2 separate regions of the Homo sapiens genome follow, and region 1 is linked to region 2. The links are contacts of gene promoters, found by promoter capture Hi-C in human tissues and cell types (Jung and others, 2019). All regions are on one chromosome and are shown on one strand. Each heading gives the region's core, a stretch centred on a gene start or on the middle of the fragment in contact. The rest is flanking DNA. Distances are from core to core; before and after follow the strand shown. Region 1 overlaps TMEM219 (transmembrane protein 219). Region 2 holds the start of ZG16 (zymogen granule protein 16).

Region 1 (6,786 bases), core at 536-3,035, 190 kb after region 2:
GAGGGGTAAGAGCGAGCGGCTGGCGGATCCGACGCGCGAGACCGGGAGGGGACGAGGGCGTTGCAATCGTTCGGGGCGGGGGCTTTCCGGGGAGGGGGTGCTCAGGTGCACCAGCGGCGGCGGACCCTCAGACTCTGCCCTCCCCTCCCTTTAACCCCCTTCCAGCCGGACGGGAGGCGGGGCAGGGCTGAGCATTTGTGACACCTACATTTCCGTGGCTCCCTTCTTTTCCCCCGACCCCTGTTTATCTCTTCGCCTTCCAGAAGTTCTTTTCCATCAGGCCGTCGCACCTTGCGTGGGAAGGAGCACCCCACTTGGAAGCAGGAGGCGGGGTTCAGATCTTGGCCCTACCCCTCCTGTGTTAAAGTCCGCGAGCCTCAGTTTCCCTCACAGTATTTTTTGCCTCGCCTTACCCGGTTTTGAGGATCTGTACGAGAAAGAGAAAGGAAGTGGACATTTGTTGAATTCCTGCATGGCCAAATACCACGCAGACTGCTTCATCCGCCACGTTTAATCCTTATTACTTGGTGTTCTCAGAACTCCCATTTCATGGATTCTTAAGCTCACAGAGTCAGTGAATAACAGAAAGGGATTCAGATCTAGCCGTTTAGCTGCACAGTGGAGTTCTTCTCCAGAGTCTTCCCTTGTCTGGGCTCTGGCTGGAACTATTCCTCAGCCAAATCCTCGCCCCAGAACAGTGCTTCCTGTTTCTCCAGCTGAGAAGTCTCCCTTTCAGTTTCCTTCTTCCAGCACGGAGTACACTGCTCTGCCTCCACTTAGATTACTTCAGAAATGAAATGCAGCAAATATTTATCCAGCAGTGCAGGGAGTTGAACTTTTGGAGTCGGGAACCTTGGATTCTTGTTCTGGCTCTGCCACTTACTGTGTGGCCTTGGGAAGTCCTTTGTCTTCTCTGAGCTTTCTTTTCTCTTTGCGTAAAAGCGGTGCTCTTGTCCCATTCTCCCTCCCTGTCTTCCAGCAGGCTCTCCCCGGAGGCTCAGCCCCCTCTGCTCCCCATGGGCAACTGCCAGGCAGGGCACAACCTGCACCTGTGTCTGGCCCACCACCCACCTCTGGTCTGTGCCACTTTGATCCTGCTGCTCCTTGGCCTCTCTGGCCTGGGCCTTGGCAGCTTCCTCCTCACCCACAGGACTGGCCTGCGCAGCCCTGACATCCCCCAGGTAAGTTCCCCACCCCCGTACCCGCTCTTCCTTCCAACCTAGACAGGCTTTTGCTGCTAATCTCATCTCACCCGTCTTCTTTTGCTCACAGGACTGGGTCTCTTTTTTGAGATCTTTTGGCCAGCTGACCCTGTGTCCCAGGAATGGGACAGTCACAGGGAAGTGGCGAGGGTCTCACGTCGTGGGCTTGCTGACCACCTTGAACTTCGGAGACGGTCCAGACAGGAACAAGACCCGGACATTCCAGGCCACAGTCCTGGGAAGTCAGATGGGATTGAAAGGTGAGATCAGAGGCTGGGTGTGGTGGCTCACGCCTGTAATCCCAACACTTTGGGAGGCTAAGGTAGGTGGATCATTTGAGGTCAGGAGTTCAAGACCAGCCTGGCCAACATGATGAAACACCATCTCTACTAAAAATACAAAAATTAGCCAGGCATGGTGGCAGGCGCCTCTAATCCCAACTACTCGGGAGGCTGAGGAAGGAGAATCGCTTGAACCCAGGAGATGGAGGTTGCAGTGAACCGAGATCGCACCATTGCACTCCAGCCTGGGTGACAGAGCAAGACTCTGTCTCAAAAAAAAAAAAAAAAAAAATCAGGTGCGGTGGCTCATGCCTGTAATCCCAGCACTTTGGGAGTCCGAGAAGGGCAGATCACGAGGTTAGGAGTTCGAGACCAGCCTGGCCAACATGGTGAAACCCCGTCTCTACTAGAAATACAAAAATTAACCTGGTGGTCTGGTTGCGGTGGCCCACAGCGGTAATCCCAGCAGTTTGGGAGGCCGAGGCGGGCAGATCATGAGGTCAGGAGTTTGAGTCCAGCCTGACCAACATGGTGAAACCCCATCTCTACTAAAAATACAAAAATTAGCCGGGCATGGTTGCACGTGCCTGTAATCCCAGCTACTCAGGAGGCTGAGGCAGGAGAATCACTTGAAGCCAGGAGGCGGAGGTTGCAGTGAGCCGAGATCGTACCACTGCACTCCATCCTGGGCAACAGAGCAAAACTCGGTCTCAAAAAAAAAAATTAGCCAGGCTTGGTGGTGCAAGCCTGTAGTTCCAGCTACTTGGGAGGCTGAGGCAGGAGAATTGCTTGAACCCGGGAGGTGGAGGTTGCAGTGAGCCAAGATCGTGCCACTGTACTCCAGCCTGGGAGACAGAGCAAGACTCCGTCTCAAACAAACAAACAAACAAAAATACAAAAAGTAGCCAGGTGTGGTGGCAGGTGCCTGTAGTCCCAGCTACTTGGGAGGCTGAGGCAGGAGAATCGCTTGAACCTGGGAGGCGGAGGTTGCAATAAGCAGAGATCACACCACTGCACTCTAGCCTGGGCAACAGAGACTCTGTCCCGCCCCGCGCCCCCCCCACCACCCTGCGCCAAAAAAAAAAAAGTAAGGTGAGATCACAGAGGACTGTGGGGTCGGGTATCAGAACACTCAGGGCTGGGCCCTGCCTCTGACCTCACCAATGATGACCTTGGGCACATCCCTGGACTTTAGTCACTTCTGTGATTAGGGCTTTCAGTGAACATGCTGCCGACAGGGTAGGTTTTCTATGAATGCTTTCTTCCTCTGCCAGTTCTGATGTTCTTTGAGTCTATCCTTGGAGGTAGGATGAAATGGGCTAGGTTTGACCTAATGTTTTCTCATCCTTTAGCCACCTCCTCCTAGAGGCCCCTTTTTCCTTAGCATAGTTCTGTATGCCACAAAAGATGCAGAAAAAAATTAGACACCATCAATTTCCAAAGAGCTATAGTCTTCTGGGAAAATGACAAGCGATAGGGAGAATGTGAAAATGTCAGTGGATGCCAATAATCCCTGTGTGACATTTGGCCTTATCTAAAATATGCTAAGATAAAGAGGGATGGAAGAGGGTGGTATTTTCTGACTTCTGAGGTCCTTTACAACACTATCATTCTAAGATTCTCCTGTGAGTATATATGTGTCGGGGGAGTGGGTCTCTGCATGTCCAGATGTACATGTATGTTAACAAAAATAAGGAATGTGTCCGATATATGCAGACTTGGGACAATTCTTTCCCATTCTTTTTACTTTTAAATAGATATATAATAGTTTTATTGAGATATGATTCATGTACCATACAATTCACCCATTGAAAGTGTACAGTTAGGGCCGGATGTGGTGGCTCATGCCTGTAATCCCAGCACTTTGGGAGGCCAAGGCAGGCAGATTGCTTGAGCGCAGGTGTTCGAGACCAGCCTGGACAAAATGGCAAGACTCTGTCTCTACTAAAAATACAAAAAAAAAAAAAAAAAAAAGCCAGGCGTGGTGGTGCACACCTGTGGTCCCAGCTACTTGGGAGGCTAAGGTGGGAGGATTGCTTATCCCTGGGAGGCAGGGCTTGCAGTAAACATTCTCCTGCCTCAGCCTCCTGAGTAGCTGGGATTACAGGTGCTCGCCATCACGCTCACCTAATTCCCGCCCCCCAGCCCAAGGAGTCTTGCTCTGTCACCCAGACTGGAGGGCAGTGATGCGATCTCAGCTCACTGAACCTCTGCCTCCCAGTTTCAGGAGATTCTCCTGCCTCAGTCTCCCAAGTAGCTGGGATTACAGGCATGTGGCACCATGCCCAGCTAATTTTTGTATTTTTAGTAGAGATGGGGTTTCACCATGTTGGCCAGGCTGGTCTTGAACTCCTGACCTCATGATCCGCCCGCCTTGGCCTCCCAAAGTGCTGGGATTACAGGTGTGAGCCACTGCGCCTGGCCAATTTTTGTATTTTTTATAGAGATGTGGTCTCACTATGTTGCCCAGGCTAGTTTCAAACTACTGGGCTCAAGTGATCCTCCTGCCTCACCTCCCAAAGTGCTGGGATTACAGGCATGAGCTACCGGGTCTGGCGTATTACCCAATTGTTTTATTTACTTTCTCTTGATTGCTAGTAAGGTTGAGCCTCTTATGGTTTATTGTCTGTATTCATGTTGCCTGTGAATTACCTGTTTGTTTCCTTTGTTCCTTTTTCTTTTAAGTTATTTGTCTTTTTCTTCTTGATTTGTAGGTCTTTATTCTAGATAGTAAACCTTTTGTCATTTAAATATATTATAGGTATTTTCAATATGTTACTTGTTTTTTTAACTTATCTTTCATTGCATAGAAGTCTTTAATTTTTATGAGGTTAGGTTTATCACTCTTGTCCTTTATTAAAACTTTTAGGTTTTGTGTCTTTCATAGGAAGCCCTTCCTCATTTTAAAATTAGAAAATATTCTGGCCAGGCGTGGTGGCTCATTCCTATAATCCCAGCCTTTGGAAGGCTGAGGCAGGTGGATCACCTGAGGTCAGGAGTTCAAGACTGGCCTGGCCAACATGATGAAACCCCGTCTCTACTAAAAATACAAAAAATTAGCCAGGCATGGTCGTGGGCACCTGTAATCCCAGCTACTCACAAGGCTGAGGCAGGAGAATTGCTTAAACCTAGGAGGTGGAGGTTGCAGTGAGCTGAGATTGCACCACTGCACTCCAGCCTGGGCAACAAGAGTGAAACTCTGTCTCAAAAATAATAAAATAAAATAAAATAAAATAAAATATTCTGTATTTTCTTTAAATACTTAAGTTTTTTTTTAGTTTGTATAGTTCTTTAATACATCTGAACTTTATTTTATAAGATAACAGTTTGACGCTATGTTTTTTTCTACATGGAAATTTTCCCAAGGCCATTTACTGAGGCCATCCTTTCCCCACTAATTTAAAATAGGGTGAGAACCTTTTAATGGATTTTGGTACCAAGTGAGAAACTGCTTTCTTAAAAAGAATGAACTAGTTTATGCAAACTGACATGGGCAATGTGTATCTGCCCATTTCACTGCAGCCTTGCGAGTATTAGTATGGTTGTTGTATTGATTGTAATTTAAGTTAATTTAAATTACAACTTAATTTGTGTTTATATTGATACAAAGTTATTTTCATTTCTCAGTGATATAAATAATGGTATATGGAATACTTTATTGAATAGAATCAATGCCAAAACACCTGGTATTATAGAAAGCCTTAAAAAATGACTAGGGGCAGGCGTGGTGGTTCATGCCTGGAATCCCAACATTTTGGGAGGTCAGGGTAGCAGGATGGCTTGAGCCCAGGAGTTTGAGTCCAGCCCGGGCAATACAGTGATACCCTGTCTCTACAAAAAAATTTTTTTAAATTAGCCAGGTAGGTGGCACACACTTGTAGCCCTGCCTACTCAGGAGACTGAGGTGGGAGGATCACTTGAGCCTAGGAGGTTGAGGCTCCCGTGAGCTGGGATCGTGCCACTGCACTCCAACCTGCACGACAAAGTGAGACCCCATCTCAAAAAAATAAAGAAAGAAAGAAAATACAAGAAAAGGGCCGGGCACGGTGGCTCACGCCTGTAATCCCAGCACTTTGGGAGGCCAAGGCGGGCGGATCACGAGGTCAGGAGATCAAGACCATCCTGGCTACCACAGTGAAACCCCGTCTCTACTAAAAATACAAAAAATTAGCTGGGCCTGGTGGTGGGCACCTGTAGTCCCAGCTACTCGGGAGACTGAGGCAGGAGAATGGTGTGAACCCGGGAGGCGGAGCTTGCAGTGAGCCGAGATTGCGCCACTGCACTCCAGCCTGGGTGATAGAGCGAGACTCCGCCTCAAAAAAAAAAAAAGAAAATACAAGAAAAGAAGCGTGAAGACAGAGGCTCCCGCGTCACCTCTCATTTTCTTCCATTTTCTCTTCTGTGCCTTTCACAGGATCTTCTGCAGGACAACTGGTCCTTATCACAGCCAGGGTGACCACAGAAAGGACTGCAGGAACCTGCCTATATTTTAGTGCTGTTCCAGGAATCCTACCCTCCAGCCAGCCACCCATATCCTGCTCAGAGGAGGGGGCTGGAAATGCCACCCTGAGCCCTAGAATGGGTGAGGAATGTGTTAGTGTCTGGAGCCATGAAGGCCTTGTGCTGACCAAGCTGCTCACCTCGGTAAGAGCCTCAGATGGGTCGCCAGGGTTTTGTAGACTGCCTGCTGACTACTGTATCTTGAAGGTCCCTGGAAACAATTCTACCTTGTAGAAAAAGCACAGGTTTTATAACCCTGCCTTGGGGGCTGTGTGACGTAGAACAAGTGTCTAAACATCTCTGAGTGTCAGCATCCTCATCTGTAAAACAGAAAACATGACCCTATCTCTTAATTCCATCAAATAAGGATTAAATGAGAATGACCGTGAAGTGCCCAGCACATTGCCTGGGACATAGAGATTTGATAAGTGACAGCTATTGTTGTTTACTATTGTCTTTAAAACATTCTCTCTACTTCAAAGGAGTTCAGAAGCTATAATAAGAGGCAAATGGGCTAATTGCTATTAGAGAGATGTGAGCAAAGTGTTATGCAAACACAGAGAAAGGAGCCATTAACCCTAACTTGAACATTTATGGAGAGTGCATCACAGAGAAGGTGGCATTTACCAGAGAGCATTGTGCACAGTGGTTTATAATGCACAAAGTGCTCTCAGGGTTCATTAATTCATTTGATCTTAAAATAGCCTTTTGAGGTAGGTGTTATTATCCCATTTTACAGATGAGGAAACAGGTTTAGAGAAAGGGAGTGAATTGCTGCAGGCCACACAACTGGTTAAGTGGCA
Region 2 (7,468 bases), core at 2,539-5,038:
TGTAAAGTGGCTCAAACAGGATCTGATAAGGCAGAAGCAGAGATGGGGGCCTGGTGTCTCACTGCCTTCACGTTCTTCCTTCTGCCTCAGTCCCCACATGAGAGTGCACCCTAGAGGTGCCAGCATTAGCGATAGGGCAGCTTTCCTTGTTTCTGGGATGGACAGAAAATGGGCCTTGAGACCCCTCCCATCATAGGAAAGCATCTCTTGCACTCTGGAGACTGAGGACTTGCTATAGTGGAACAAGAAGCAGTCTTCGGCAATGGAGGAGATGCTGGATCTCCATACAGGCAGGGTGGGTGCAACGGAGTGGAGCTGTGGCAAATGTGGGTGCCTCTGTCCTGAGGGTCCTGGATGTGTCATGCCTGGGAACATGAGGGCGTTCTTCCAAGGTGCCCATCTCGACCTCTCTGAGCTGCCATCTTTGACTTCCTGTGTTTGGTCACAGACTAGGGGTGGTCTGTCCCTAAACAGAAGAAGACAAGCAAGGATTAGAGAGGAGAAAGAGCTAGAGAGAGAGCTTGGGAGAGATGTAGGGACAAGGAAAGAAGAGGCAGAAGGAAAAAGGCATGGAGGGAAGGAATATAAAAAAAAACCCCTTAGGCCAGGCATGGTGGCTCACGCCTGTAATTCCCGCACTTTGGGAGGCCAAGGTGGGTGGATCACCTGAGGTCATTTCAAGACCAGCCTGGCCAACATGGTGAAACCCCATCTTTACTAAAAATACAAAAATTAGCCAGGCATGGTGGTGGGTGCCTGTAATTCTAGCTACTCCGGAGGCTGAAGCAGGAGAATCGCTTGAACCCTGGAGGCAGAGGTTGCAGTAAGCTGAGATCAGGCCACTGCACTCCAGCCTGGGTGACAGAGCGAGAATCTATCTCAAAAAAAAAAAGAAAAAAGAAAAAAAGGCCGGGTGTGGTGGCTCACGCCTATAATCCTAGCACTTTGGGGGGCTGAGGAAGGTGGATCACAAGGTCAGGAGATTGAGACCATCCTGGCCAACATGGTGAAACCCCATCTCTAGTAAAATAGAAAAAATTATCTGGGTGTGGTGGTGCGCACCTGTAGTCCCAGCTACTCAGGAGGCTGAGGCAGGGGAATTGCTTGAACCCTGGAGGCAGAGGTTGAAGTGAGTCGAGATCGCGCCACTGCACTCCAGCCTGGCAACAGAGCAAGACTCCATCTAAAAAAAAAGAAAGAAAGAAAGAAAGAAAAATCCTCCCCAGAGCAGGGAAAGATGAAGACATAAAGGGAAGGAGAGTCACCAGGAAAGAGAGAGGGAGAGAGACACAAAACAAAATGGCTGGAATGAGGTGAAAGTTATAGTAGCAGGATGTGCTGACACTGACCTTGGAGAAAAAGAGAGGGGAAGGGAGGAGTGAACGTGGAATCTTTGGCTGCTGTTCTGTTTCACTCCCAGAACTCACCACCCTGGATTCCCCCCATTTCCAGATCCTCAGGCGGGACTGCCTTTGCTATCTGGGATGAGTCATTGGCCCCAGATGGTAAACCTGTGAGGGGTGGGGTGCTCTGAATGCCTGACTAGTCATTTATAATTGAGAGCACTTATTCCAGCCCCTTCTGGTCCTCCATCCTTCCCTCTTCTTGGACCTCCTGATTCAGAGAGGTCAGAGGGCCAGTCCAGGAGGGGTCAGGCACTAGGTCCCTGGAGTCAGTCTTAGGGATTTTAGGCAGAGAGGAATCAGTCCTGAAAATGAAGGGCATACAGAGAAAAAAAAAACTATGACATCACCCCTGGGGGTGTTACAGACCTAAGAAAGAAGCAATGGCCCTGGGCGGCCTACAGCCCCAGGAAGATTCAGCCATGGTACCCAGGAGACTTGAGGGCCCAAAGCCCAGAATTACCCCCAGAGGAACACCTGTAGACCTTCGGATCCTTAGCTTTGCACTTCCCATTGGACTGACTCTGTTTCCTGTGGGGCAATAGGCACGTGTTCACTGTGCACCTGCAGCCCCAGTCATCCTTCTCAGAGAGAAATGGTTTGGGAAGTGTTTGGCATATTGGGGATAAATAGATGAGTGGATAGAAAAAAAAATGCAGGCCAGGCACAGTGGCTCACGCCTGTAATCCCAGCACTTTGGGAGGCCGAGGTGGGCGGATCACGAGGTCAAGAGATCGAGACCATCCTGGCAAACATGGCGAAACCCTGTCTCTACTAAAATTACAAAAATTAGCTGGGCGTGGTGGCGCATGCCTGTAATCCCAGCTACTCGGGAGGCTGAGGCAGGAGAATCGCTTGAACCTGGGAAGCAGAGATTATAGTGAGCCGAGATCGCGCCACTGCCCTCCAGCCTGAGGGATAGAGCAAGACTGTGTCTCCAAAAAGAAGAAAGAAAAAAAAGCAATTACAGCAAAATATTAACCATAGTAGAATCTATACAGTGGTTATATAAGTGTCCACTATACAATTCTTTTTTTTTTTTTCCTTTTTTTGAGACTTGATGTTTCGATCATGGCTCACTGCAACTTTGACCTCCTCAGCTCAAGTGATCCTCTTGCCTCAGCCTCCTGACTAGCTGGGATCACAGGTGTGCACCACCATGCCTGGCTAATTGTTTTATTTTTTGTAGAGACGAGATCTCCCTATGTTGCCCATGTTGGTCCTGAACTCCTGAGCTTAAGCAGTCCTCCTGCTTTGACCTCTCAAAGTGCCGGGATTACAGGCATGAGCCACTGCACCCAGTCTTGCTATACGATTCTTTTGTTTTTTTTTTTTTTTTTTTTGAGATGGAGTCTCACTCTGTCGCCCAGGCTAGAGTGCAGTGGAGTGATCTCAGCTCACTGCAACCTCTGCCCCTCAGGTTCAAGTGATTCTCCTGCCTCAGTCTCCTGACTAGCTGGGATCACAGGCACCTGCCATCACACCCAGCTACTTTTTGTATTTTTAGTACAGATGGGGTTTCGCCATGTTGGCCAAGCTGGTCTCAAACTCCTGACCTCAGGTGATCCAGCTGCCTCAGCTTCCCAAAGTGTTGGATTATGGGTGTGAGCCACTGGGCCCAGCCACTGTACAATTCTTTAAACTTTTATATGTGTTTGGATTTTTCATAATATTAGAAAAGGGAAAGAAAAAAATGTCTGGCAAATAGTCAGCACTCGTAAGTATAAGATTTTGGGAATATATTCCCTTCTGGGAGAATCCACATTTCGAATGCCTGGGAAGGGCTCTGTTTGTCCTGACAGATGGCAGATTTCAGGTGAGAGCACCTACTAAGCCTAGAGGTGATAAGCTACTTTGCCCACCTAGAGCTGCTGGTGGTGACCTTAAGTTTACTATGTTTCTCCTGGTATACGGCACTTGGCCCAGAGTGGACTCCAGCTTGCCACCTGTCACCCAGGCTGGAGTGCAGTGGCGTGATCTTGTCTCACTGCAGCCTCAACGTCCTGGGCTCAGGCGATCTTCCCTACCTCCCTCCTGATTAGTTGAGGCTACAGGTGCTCGTCACCATGCCCGGCTAATTTTTGTTTTTGTTTTTTGTTTTGGTAGAGATGGGGTCTCACACTCTTGCCCAGGCTGAGCTAGAACTCCTGGCCTCAAGCGATCTGCCTCTGCCTCCCAAAGCATTGTAATGACAGGTGTGAGTCACCATGCCCAGCCAGGAACTCAGAGAATCTTACCCTATGCTGTAGTATCTGTTGACTATGGGGTAGAGGCAGGATAAGGTGTTCCAGACCCTGCCTGACACCTGATCCGAAGAGGTTGCTCATGTTTGCTCAGGAGGTGAGGTTCACACAATAAAGGGCAGGAGGAGGGCTTGGACCTGGTATAAAACATCTGGAAGTTTCCAGGGGGCTGCTTTGCATCTGAAACTGTCAGGTGAGGGGTGACAGAGATGCCTGAATCTGAGTTGGGGGGGAATTCAAATCTGAGCTGGCGAAGAGGATGCCTGGAAGGAATGGCAGGAAAGACTTGAGTTAATTGGCGCTTCTGGGTCTGCAGTAATCTTAGGTGCAAAGCTGTCTAGGTCTCTGCTGAAGGACTGGGGACACCTGGGATGTTCAGGAGAATAGAAATGGCCAGATGTGTGTTAGTGGAGAAAAGAATAGTGACACATAGACCAGGCACCTGGGGTCTAATATCTTGAGCTGGTCCCGACTCCTTCTGCAACTTCTCTGTCTGTCCTAGTTCCACCAGCACTGCTTGGATACTGGTGCTGGCACAGTTCCTTCTGTCACCAACTTTGCTCCCCAGGTAACATAGAGGCAACTCTAAAATGCTTCTTTCCTTGAGACCAGGTGGATGCCAGGGATTTAAACCATGCTCCAGGTGCCCCATAATCCAGGCCAATTCACCACAGATGATGAGGCTTTCTTTGCTCAGCCTCTGGGCTCAGTAAACTCAGCCATCTCTTTGCTTGGGAGAGGTCCTCTACTCCCTCCTTAGAAAACTCGTTTCCTGGCTATGGCCATACCAACCCAAATGTACCTGGGCTTGGCTGACTTCAGAAAACTTTTCTGCTTTGTGCCAGGATGGAATAAGGCTTAATCCAGATAGTTAGAGTTCATCTTCAGGCCTGAGAGAAAAAGAGGAGGGCTTGGCTACAGCCAGACCAGGGAGAGCTGGAGGGGTCAGGGACATTGAAGGTAGCATCAGAGAGGAACAGGACTACAGGCTATGGACAGTCCTTTCTAAGCTCAAGACTGGGTCTGCTAGGTCTAAGTTGAAGGACGAAGAAGGCTTGGTCTGAGCTGCAGGTCAGGAGTGCCTGGGTCAATCAAGTCAACAAGGAAGAAGGTGAATCTTCATTTGCTCTTTTCTTCCCACTCCAGCCCCAGAATGTTGACAGTCGCTCTCCTAGCCCTTCTCTGTGCCTCAGCCTCTGGCAATGCCAGTAAGTGAGATACCAGGAGCCTGGTATTGGGGACTTGGGAAGGCAGCCTTGGGCACTGCTGTTGGCCAAGGCTTTTGGAGGTTGGCTTGGGGTGGGGAGCTGAGTTGTCGGAGGAACAGGGGTGATGCAGAGAAACTGAACTCCTGGAAGATTTCTCCCTCCAACTCCTGCTTGCCCCTCCAGTTCAGGCCAGGTCTTCCTCCTATAGTGGAGAGTATGGAGGTGGTGGTGGAAAGCGATTCTCTCATTCTGGCAACCAGTTGGACGGCCCCATCACCGCCCTCCGGGTCCGAGTCAACACATACTACATCGTAGGGTAAGATTCTTTGAATTCCTGGCTGGGCGCGGTGGCTCACATCTGTCATTACAATGCTTTGGGAGGCAGAGGCAGATCGCTTGAGGCCAGGAGTTCTAGCTCAGCCTGGGCAAGATGCCAGGGATGCCAGGGATTTAAACCATGCTCCAGGTACCAAGACCCCATCTCTACCGAAGAAAAACAAAAAAATTAGCCAGGCATGGTGGTGAGTACCTGTAGCCTCAACTACTCAGGAGGGAGAGGCGGGAGGATTGCCTGAGCCCAGGATGTTGAGGCTGCAGTGAGCCAAGATCATGCCACTGCACTCCAGCCTGGGTGACAGAGTCTCTTTGTTGGCAAAATGAGTTGAAGTTCCCTGTAGGATCTTCCAGGGTTCACCCAGGCTTCACAGTCTGTAGGACTAGCCAGAGACCTCTCATCCCTATCATCACCTTTCTTTCTCCTTCCTTCCTCCCCTCTTCCTCAGTCTTCAGGTGCGCTATGGCAAGGTGTGGAGCGACTATGTGGGTGGTCGCAACGGAGACCTGGAGGAGATCTTTCTGCACCCTGGGGAATCAGTGATCCAGGTTTCTGGGAAGTACAAGTGGTACCTGAAGAAGCTGGTATTTGTGACAGACAAGGGCCGCTATCTGTCTTTTGGGAAAGACAGTGGCACAAGTTTCAATGCCGTCCCCTTGCACCCCAACACCGTGCTCCGCTTCATCAGTGGCCGGTCTGGTTCTCTCATCGATGCCATTGGCCTGCACTGGGATGTTTACCCCAGTAGCTGCAGCAGATGCTGAGCCTCCTCTCCTTGGCAGGGGCACTGTGATGAGGAGTAAGAACTCCCTTATCACTAACCCCCATCCAAATGGCTCAATAAAAAAAATATGGTTAAGGCTAGTCTGTGTGGGGGCATCTGTGGCTGGGATATCTGCCTCCTGACTTAGCCGGGGACGTGCAAATCTCACTTCTGGCTGGCTTTGGACATCTGTCTGGAAGATGGGAAGATGAGGGAGAGGTATGTAAGAATCCTGGGCTTTGTGCTATAATTTATCAAGAGGAGATGAGATTCTGGCTTGCATCAACGCTCTTCAAGGACAGCTCCTTGGAACATTGATCCAAACTGGAGTCATGGGTCTGAGGGCAAGGCCTAGTTGTGGCTTACACCAAAACCCCAGATGTCCCACTCTCCAGCTCTCCTCACCCCTGGTCCTCCCCTTGAGAAAGTGGTGAACTCACTTGCTGTGTGTGGGTGGCCAGGACCATTAGCCTTTGTTCTTTCCCAGAACCCACCTGACTCCTGAAACTTAGCTGAAGTCTGTGCCCGAGGACCCTGCCCTGTTACCAGGCCCAGTTCCTCCTCACCTCTACCCATGAGCCCCGGTGTCCTGCTAAGCCCTCTCAGATCTGGGATTCCTCCTTCCTCAGGAAGCCACCACCTTCTCAGCAGTGGAAACCCTGCCCACACTATGCTCTTAGGCTTTAGCCATCAGAAGGTTACAGTGGACTGCGGGAGGCTGACACTAGGCTGAACTCATTAAGGAATGAATGGGAGGTGAGAAGACACAGGCAGCAAGAATCGAGTGTTTCAAGAAGTTTGGCTGTGGTTTGCCAGAAATAGGCAAGTCAGTTTTCGGGGGTGTAAGGAAAAAGGGTTTTGTGTCTTTTTAAAATCCTAGACAGGAGAGTCACAAGCATGTTCACATGATAAAGAGGAAGAAAGAGAAAGAGGCTGGAGATTCTGAAAAGAGATCACTGGTGAGGTCTCAAAAGAGATAGAAGAGGATGGTTATGTAGTTGGGGAAAGAAATTTTAAGAAGGGAAGAAAATTAAAATGAGTGAAGGTATACGTTAGTTTTGTAAAAGTTATCAATATCTGGCTGGGCACAGTGCTCACACCTGTAATCCCAGCACTTTGGGAGGCCAAGGCAGGCAGATCATTTGAGGTCAGGAGTTGGAGACAAGCCTCCAACATGGTAAAACCCTGTCTCTACTAAAAATACAAAAATTAGCCAGGTGTGGTGGCAGTCACCTGTAATCCCAGCTACTTGGGAGGCTGAGGCATGAGAATCACTTGAATGCTGGAGGCAGAGGTTACAATGAGTTGAGACAGCACAACTGCACCCCAGCCTGGATGACAGAGTGAGACTCCATCTAAAAAAAAAAGGAATGTTATCAGTATCAAAATGGAGTAACATATGTCACATCCTAACAAAATGGAACCAACCTGACACCTAAATTAAGCATTGCACCTGATAACACCATGGAGGACTGGGTGGAGAATCAGCAGACAATGGCAGGGAGAGGCAGTCTGTG

What was found. Contacts are between HindIII fragments. The study calls those that stand out against the background at their distance.
Region 1: a contact is called between a fragment that was not itself captured here and the fragment with the promoter of ZG16 in region 2, in 1 of the 25 tissues and cell types used here (mesenchymal stem cells).

Annotation. Positions count from the first base shown.
Region 1 is chr16:29,962,128-29,968,913 of GRCh38, forward strand. It overlaps TMEM219 (transmembrane protein 219), which reads left to right. Exons shown (of 6, transcript NM_001083613.2): 1 at 1-5; 2 at 980-1,181; 3 at 1,273-1,462; 4 at 5,898-6,127. The coding sequence starts at 1,017. Among named protein-coding and RNA genes, the nearest start is that of TMEM219, 3.4 kb to the left of the region's middle. RefSeq lists a silencer at 1-234. The HindIII fragment of the contact is 7,005 bases long and covers 1-5,288 here.
Region 2 is chr16:29,774,468-29,781,935 of GRCh38, forward strand. ZG16 (zymogen granule protein 16) reads left to right here and starts at 3,789. Exons shown (of 4, transcript NM_152338.4): 1 at 3,789-3,839; 2 at 4,793-4,854; 3 at 5,038-5,170; 4 at 5,637-7,468. The coding sequence starts at 4,800. The coding sequence ends at 5,952. RefSeq lists an enhancer at 1,301-1,595. The HindIII fragment of the contact is 7,779 bases long and covers 1-4,976 here.